Linked DNA regions of Homo sapiens: region 1 is linked to region 2. Evidence: promoter capture Hi-C in human tissues and cell types (Jung and others, 2019). All regions are on one chromosome and are shown on one strand. The core of a region is centred on a gene start or on the middle of the fragment in contact, and the rest is flanking DNA. Distances in the headings are between cores, read along the strand shown. Region 1 overlaps FRS2 (fibroblast growth factor receptor substrate 2). Region 2 holds the start of YEATS4 (YEATS domain containing 4).

Region 1 (3,985 bases), core at 838-3,337, 170 kb before region 2:
CAAGCCACAATATTTTGCATACACATTAGTATAATAGTTCCCTGTCTGATCTCCCAGTCTCTCTCTTGCTCACCTCAACAAGTCAGTGAGATTAGCCATTTTCAAAAGAAAGTCAGATCATGTCATTCTTCTAATCGAATTCTCCAACTGAGTCCAGCTCAGTAGTCTAAAAGCCAGACTCCTTACAAAGGCCCATAAAGACCATGATCTGCTATCCCCCACCCCATCTCTCTTACCTCATCTACCACTCTCTCCCTTATTCACCCCATTCAAGCTATACCAGCATCTTTCCTTTCCTTAAACTTATCAAGCACCTTCTCACTTCAGGATCTCAGGACTTGTTTTTCCCTCTGCCAGTAACAAGAGATATCTCTCTCTCTGGCTTATTTCTCCTCTTCCTTTAGGACTTTGTTTTTGTAAGTCATCTCATCAAAGAAATCTGCCCTAGTGTCCTGAGCAAGCCCAAAATAGCTGTCTTAGTTTTCCTTATCTGGCAAAGAATTTGTAAAGAATAGTAAATTATAAATTTGGGAGATGGTAATCTTCAAACATAACATCATCAATTTTTAGATCTTTCTTTGTGTCTAAACATCTGTAGAGCTACACTGTTCCTTTTAAAAGATTCTTAAGTTCCCGACTTCAAAGAAATAATGAAGATGTATCTATCAAAGTGTGGTTTTCTTAAACTGTTGTTTTGTTTTTAAATCATCTGTACCATAACTCTAGAACAGAGTGGTAGAAGATTTGAATTAAAAGAGTCCCATCAAAAAACAAAAACCAGCAAAAAAATGGCATTCCCTTTCCTCCCACTTTGTTAGGGATTTCTGTTTGGGATTATATTATAAGGTTCCAGGTAATCTCAGGAAGTTTAACTGCTTCAAATTTATCTGTTACCTTTAGATATCAAGACCACCAGGAAACAATCAAAAGAACTCACTAACTCTTAACATGACTAAACTAGCTATGACATGGTAGGATGTTTAAACTTAATTATTTTTTCTTTAAATAAACAAACTCCCCCTAGGCTAAGCCCTCCTCTGCCTTTTAAACATTCTATGGCTGGCAAACTTCAGGGTCTTAAGAGAGATAGCCAGGGGACAGAGAAAACAGCAAGTCTGACTCAGTGATCACATTTAACAGTCCCTGAAAACCAAAACAAAGATACAGTTCTGGCAAGAGTTCTCTAGAATTGCTGCAAAACTGACTTATCCACATACCTTTCATCTGAACAATCTATTTTCACTTACTTTAAGGTACATAAAGCATTTGTTATGTGTCTATCAGACCTTAGGTATAAAAATAAACCAAGAGTACAAAGAAAACAATTAGCAGGGGTTCCAAAAGTTGGATGATGAAATTTAATGTTCAAATCTGCTTTGTTTGGAAAGTTGGAGAGAACCCTTGAATATTTTTGTACCGAAATGCTCCCACTCATTTAGAAATCAGAATTTTAGCAAGTTCAACCACTTGAAAGAAAGCTAGTAATATTAAAAACTTTTATTGAGCAACTTCTATGTGCCCCATATTTACATTAGTTAATTCTCAGAATTTCCCAATCAAAAAGGTTAAAGCACACGGTGGTTACTAACTTGTCTAAATCAGAGATAGCCTCAGGATTCCAAATCCCAGTTTGTCTTGTTCACTATTATAATCTGCAGTAAACTGGAATACAGTTATTAACGACAAATCCCATATTTGTGCCATAGGAATAACATGTAAATCCAGGCTGTTTATGTAAAAATTTGCTTAAAGCCAGGCATGGTGACCCGCAACAAGAATCCCAGTTACTTGGGAGGCTGAGGCAGGAGGATTCTTTGAGCCCACGAGTTAGAGTCCAGCTTGGACGATGTACCTAGACCTTGTCTCTTTAAAAAAAAAAAAAAAAAAAAATCATTAAAAAAAAAAAAACTTTGCTCCATTCTTGCTTCAGACAAGAGGACAAATGAAGAAAGATTCACTGCTATACATTAAGAGTAAACCTGTGGCATTAGGGGATTATTAAGGGCATTAAGGGGTGAATCCAAAGAATGTGCCATGCTTAGGTCTAAAAGAATTGAGTAAAAATAAGCTGGCCAGAGCAAAGCACAATAATTGGTTTTCAAATCACCTTTAAATGACTGATTGTTATTCCATACACTTAGAAAAGTCAGGGAAAAAATGTCAGGGTTCAATGGGGTGGCCACACAGGTGTTCATCAAAAGTTTCTGCACTGGCTGGACGCGGTGGCTCAGGCCTGTAATCCTAGCACTTTGGGAGGCCAAGGCGGGTGGATCACGAGGTCAGGAGATCGAGACCATCCTGGATAACATGGTGAAACCCTGTCTCTACTAAAAATACAAAAAATTAGCCAGGCGTGGTGGCACGCGCCTGTAGTCCCATCTACTCAGGAGGCTGAGGCAGGAGAATCACTTGAACCTGGGAGGCGGAGATTGCAGTGAGCCGAGATCGTGCCACTGCACTCTAGCCTGGGTGACGGAGTGACACTCTGTCTCAAAAAAAAAAAAAAGTTTCTACACTTTTCTGACTATCTGAAATATTTTTCTCTCTCATCTATCTACATACATACACATGTATATGTTAAATTATCTTTAAAGTAATTTTTAGAATTTATAATGAAATTATTAGTTCTATTAATTTTCCTAATTTTCTTTTTCTAAAAAATCCTCTCATGTGGAACACATTCTTGACATTATCAGATAACACTAATTGGCTTTATTTCTTCATACTCAATAGCATCTGATTTTATAAGTGTCATTAATGAAAAAATATTGTGTAGGAATATTTTCTTTCTGAATCGTAAGCTTAATTGGTTATTATTAGATTGAACTACTGCCTATCACATAGCAAAAGTAATATACCCACTGTATTTTCAAATGAAAATCAAAGTAATTCCTTCTCAGGACACATTACCCAGGAAATGTAGCCTTATTATACTAATGTCCTAAGTTAGTTGGAAAAAGTGAAAATTCCTTAGAACAAATTATCCCCATGATTAAAAAACATGCCATGTAAACATCAGTACAACTTAGATTTACACAGAGAAACAGACTGATCAATTTAAAGTTTCCCAAAGGATGGGCCAGGCACCATGGCTCACACCTGTAATCCCAGCACTTTGGGAGGCCGAGGTCAGCAGATCACCTGAGGTCAGGAGTTGAAGACCAGCTGATAAACATGGTGAAACCCGTCTCTACTAAAAACACAAAATTAGCCGGGTGTGGTGGTGCATGCCTGTAATCCTAGCTACTTGGGAGGCTGAGGCAGGAGAATCGCTTGAACCCAGGGGGCGGAAGGAAGTTGCAGTGAGTCAAGATTACACCACTGCACTCTAGCCTGGGCAACAAGAGCAAAACTCCATCTCAAAAAATGAAATTAAAATCAAAATAAATAAAGTTTCCCAAAGTACTAAATACATATGCTAGTCTTCTAAATATTTGTGATCTGGAAATTATCAGCAAAAACCAACATTCTTTTAAAAAAACACATACCACTTGGTTGAGTTTATGGTGCTAAAAAAAAAAAATAATCTCCCTCACAGTCTCCATTGCACTGATGGTTAATAAAGATGAAGGAAAGGAAAGGAGAGGAAAGAGAGGACACGCGTTCTCAAGATACCAATTATAAACAATACAACTTTATTTTTTTTAAGCCTTAGGATTTTAGTGTTCCTTTCTCAGTAACAAAGACTCCGTGTGCAGACCTAGAATTAGGAACATATAAAGATAATGGGAAGGTCTGCATGGTTTTGAAATCAATGTTGGGGGTTATCACCTGTGGCATTTACTTGTTTTGTTTTGTATTTTAAGGAAATGCAGATCACAGAGCACATAGATATGTATTGTTTCTTGAAACTTTATCATACACACAGTCTCTCTATAGTCAATGTTTGTCTCATCTTTCTCTCCTTTCCTTCCTTCCTCTTGAATACTCACAAACAGTATGAATAATGCATATTTAAATACTTGTGGTTTGTATAAAAACATGC
Region 2 (3,526 bases), core at 967-3,466:
AAATAAACTGATTTAAATGTAAATGTTACAATAAATATTACAGTTGAATTCAGACATGGCAAAAATGGCCAAGAGTCACTTGGATGACTGAAGCTTGGTAAATAGTGGCTGATGACATGTTTGCTACATTTGTCCTTAGTTTAACATACATATTTCTTATATCTGATAAGTGCAAAGGCAGTGCGTATTGACAGATTATGTTGGAAAGATAAAAAATTTCAATTGAAGTGAAAATATTGAATGTTGCACATGAATCTGAAACCAATGGCTCAGTTACAGAAATGTATCTGAAGAACAATGAGCAAGATTTACCACATGTGAAAAGTGCTGAGTGAATGTAACCAACAACAATAAAAATGAAGAAAAGCGGCCAGGCACGGTGGCTCACGCCTGTAATCCCAGCACTTTGGGAGGCCGAGGCGGGCAGATCACCCGAGGTCGGGAGTTCGAGACCAGCCTGACCAACACGGAGAAGCCCCCGTCTCTACTAAAAATACAAAATTAGCTGGGCATGGTGGCGCATGCCTGTAATTCCAGCTATTCAGGAGGCTGAGGCAGGAGAATCGCTTGGAGGCAGGAGAATCGCTTGAATCCAGGAGGTGGAGGTTGCGGAGAGCCGAGATTGCGCTAGTGCACTCCAGCCTGGGCAACAAGAGCAAAACTCCGTCTCAAAAAAAAACAAAACAAAACACACACACACACACACACACACACACATAAGTATTTTAAAACCTACTAATTATTGCTATTTTTTTTTTAAAGAAACATTGTCTTGCTCTGTCGCCCAGGCTAGAGTGCAGTGGCACGATCTCAGCTCACTGCAACTTCCGCCTCTCGGGTTCAAGCGATTTTCCTGCCTCAGCCCCTCTAGTAGCTGGGATTACAGGTGCCCGCCACCACGCCCGGCTAATTTTTGTATATTTAGTAGAGACGGGGTTTCACCATGTTGACCAGCCTGGTCTTGAACTTCTGATCTCAGGTGATCCACCCTCCTCGGCCTTCCAAAGTGCTGGGATTACAGGCGTGAGCCACCTTGCCCGGCCCTGCACGTTAATTTTTAAGGCAGGACCCACTGGCTCCTGATAAAAACAACTATTTGTACCCCTTCTGATTTTTATTTATAAAGGAAAGGAAATTTTTCTTTAAAAAGAATGAACCACGGCTGGGCGCGGTGGCTCACGCCTGTAATCCCAGCACTTTGGGAGGCCGAGGTTGCAGTGAGCCGAGATCGTGCCATTGCGCTCCAGCCTGGGCAACAAGACAGACACTTCGTCTCAAAAAAAAAAAAAAATTAACGTGCCAGGGGCTGTGTGAGGGAAATAAATATTACAATGTCAAACATTACGCTAGGGTCTATGGTAATTTCATCAAAAACAAAAGAAGTTGACATTTACTGAATGTTCCCCATGTGCCAGGCACAGTGTTATGCTCTTGCTTTGAGGCTTTGTGAACACCATGAACTCCAGCAAATTTTCTTAGCTTTCGTATGCCTCGGTGTCTCAGTTACCGCACTTGGAAATACTGCGGGTAAGCGCTCAGCGACTGTTTGCTACAGTTATTGTTATCCTCACACCAGGAGGGTGGCGTCACCGCTTCACCAATAACCTAGATTGGCAGCGAATGTGCACCAAGCTGAGCTTTCCCAGCCCTCGGAGTCGCCCGTTTCCTTGGCAGCCACGTCCGGGTTTCCCCAAGCCACCATTTATCTGTTTGTTTTTTGGCGGGGGTGGGAGTTGGCAGTGACGCGAGGAAGTTGGGGCCCAATGAACGCCGGTTTTTCGCTCAATGGCTCTGACTCGCTCTCCAACCTGAAACCACGGTTCAAACCCGAGGAGAAAAGGCGCGAAAGGAAACCCAGTGGGCCCTCCCCGCGCCGCGCAGGGAGGAACCGAGGCGGGAGAGCCACCCCGGAAGAGGGGCGGTCCGGGCACTGACCTTTACTCTCCCGCCGGAGTCAGGCCCAAATTCGGCCATTCTCTTGAACATATTGTCCCACGGAAGAAGCCGCCGCCGCCAGGGAAAGAGACCGGGGCTGGCGGGGTCGCCGCTCCCCTCAGAGACCGCGCTCCTGTCGCGCGGGCCCAGGCGGAGGGTTTCTAGCCGAAGGAGGGCGAGTTACTTGGGCTCACGGCGGTGAGTAACCGTCAACTCCTCAGGCCGACTGTGCTCCTGAAGGCCATTCAGGCCCGCGCAGGTGGAGAACGCCGCGAAAAGAGGGGCGACGGCCGCACCGCGCGCAGGCGCAACGGGCTCGCGTATGCGCACGCAGTGTACACTGCGCACGCGCCTGGCGGCTGCAGTCACATCACAGGACCAGTGCAGGAGTTCCAAACCAAAAAAAAAATGAAAGGCAGGAAATAATAAATGACTTCAAAAAGTTGTCCAGATGTTAAGGAGATGAGTTTCCACACTGAAAGATCCTACTAAGCACCCAGCACAAATATTAAAGCATCCACGTCAAGGCATATCATTGTGAATTTTCTGAACATCGAGGAAAAAGAGATCCCACACCCTTCCAGGTTATACAGACTATAGAATCAGAGTGGCTTCAGATTGCTCAGTTAGAATCTAGGAAGCCATACGGCACTGTCTTCAAAACTCTGAGGGAAAATTACTTCCGATTTAGTCTTCAATACTCATCCAACTACCAATCTAGTGTGTGAATAGAATAGAGTTTCAGATGTGCTAAATCACTACACACAAAAAATAGTACCTATCTTACCTTTCTCAGTACCTCCAGGAAGATCCTGTAGATCTGATCCACCAAAATGAGGGAATAAGCCAAGAAGGAGGAAATTATGAAATGCAGGAAATACAATAAATAACAAACACAGAAAATAGTAAGATCCCAAGATGATACTGAAAGAGCTCCGGGAACAATAGCTGTGTATAGGCATAGACGGCAACGCATCTAGATTAGATTCGGTCAGAAATCTTTGGGAGACACTGCTTCAGAAGGATGGGATTGACAAAATTCCAGCTGGCGTTGAATCAAGAGGAGATTTGACCGAGAGTTTGGAGTTTAACTCATGACAGGTACACAGAAAACTAAGCGGCTGTAAGAATTATGCAGCTATTAATTCTAGGGAAAACAAAATCTTGTGCAAGAAAGGAAAGTAATTGTATTTATTGTTACATAAATACTGAGTATTGGCCGGGCGCGGTGGCTCACGCCTGTAATCCCAGCACTTTGGGAGGCCAAGGTGGGCGGATCACGAGGTCAGGAGATCGAGACCATCCTGGCTAACACGGTGAAAACCCGTCTCTACTAAAAATACAAAAAAATTAGCCGAGCGTGGTGGTGGGCGCCTGTAGTCCCAGCTGCTTGGGAGGCTGAGGCAGAAGAATGGCGTGAACCCGGGAGGCGGAGCTTGCCTTGAGCCGAGATCGCACCACTGCACTCCAGCCTGGGTGACAGAGCAAGACTCCGTCTCAAAAAAAAAAAAAAAACAAAACAAAAAAAAACTGAGTATTGATCCCCCCTCCCCCTCAAAAAAAGAATTACATTTAGAAGGATGGGCTTTGG

The links. The method cuts DNA at HindIII sites, captures the fragments that hold promoters and counts their contacts. A contact is called where the count stands out against the background at its distance.
Region 1: a fragment that was not itself captured here is called in contact with the fragment with the promoter of YEATS4 in region 2 in 1 of the 25 tissues and cell types used here (hippocampus).

The regions. Positions count from the first base shown.
Region 1 is chr12:69,525,249-69,529,233 of GRCh38, reverse strand. The region is part of intron 1 of FRS2 (fibroblast growth factor receptor substrate 2); the gene reads right to left. Among named protein-coding and RNA genes, the nearest start is that of SNORA113, 12 kb to the right of the region's middle. RefSeq lists a silencer at 1,059-1,259. The HindIII fragment of the contact is 4,028 bases long and covers 74-3,985 here.
Region 2 is chr12:69,358,433-69,361,958 of GRCh38, reverse strand. It overlaps YEATS4 (YEATS domain containing 4), which reads right to left and starts at 2,216. Exons shown (of 7, transcript NM_006530.4): 1 at 1,936-2,216. The coding sequence starts at 1,986. RefSeq lists a silencer at 1,682-1,841 and enhancers at 1,267-1,868, 2,122-2,311, 1,869-2,472. The HindIII fragment of the contact is 10,052 bases long and covers 1-3,526 here.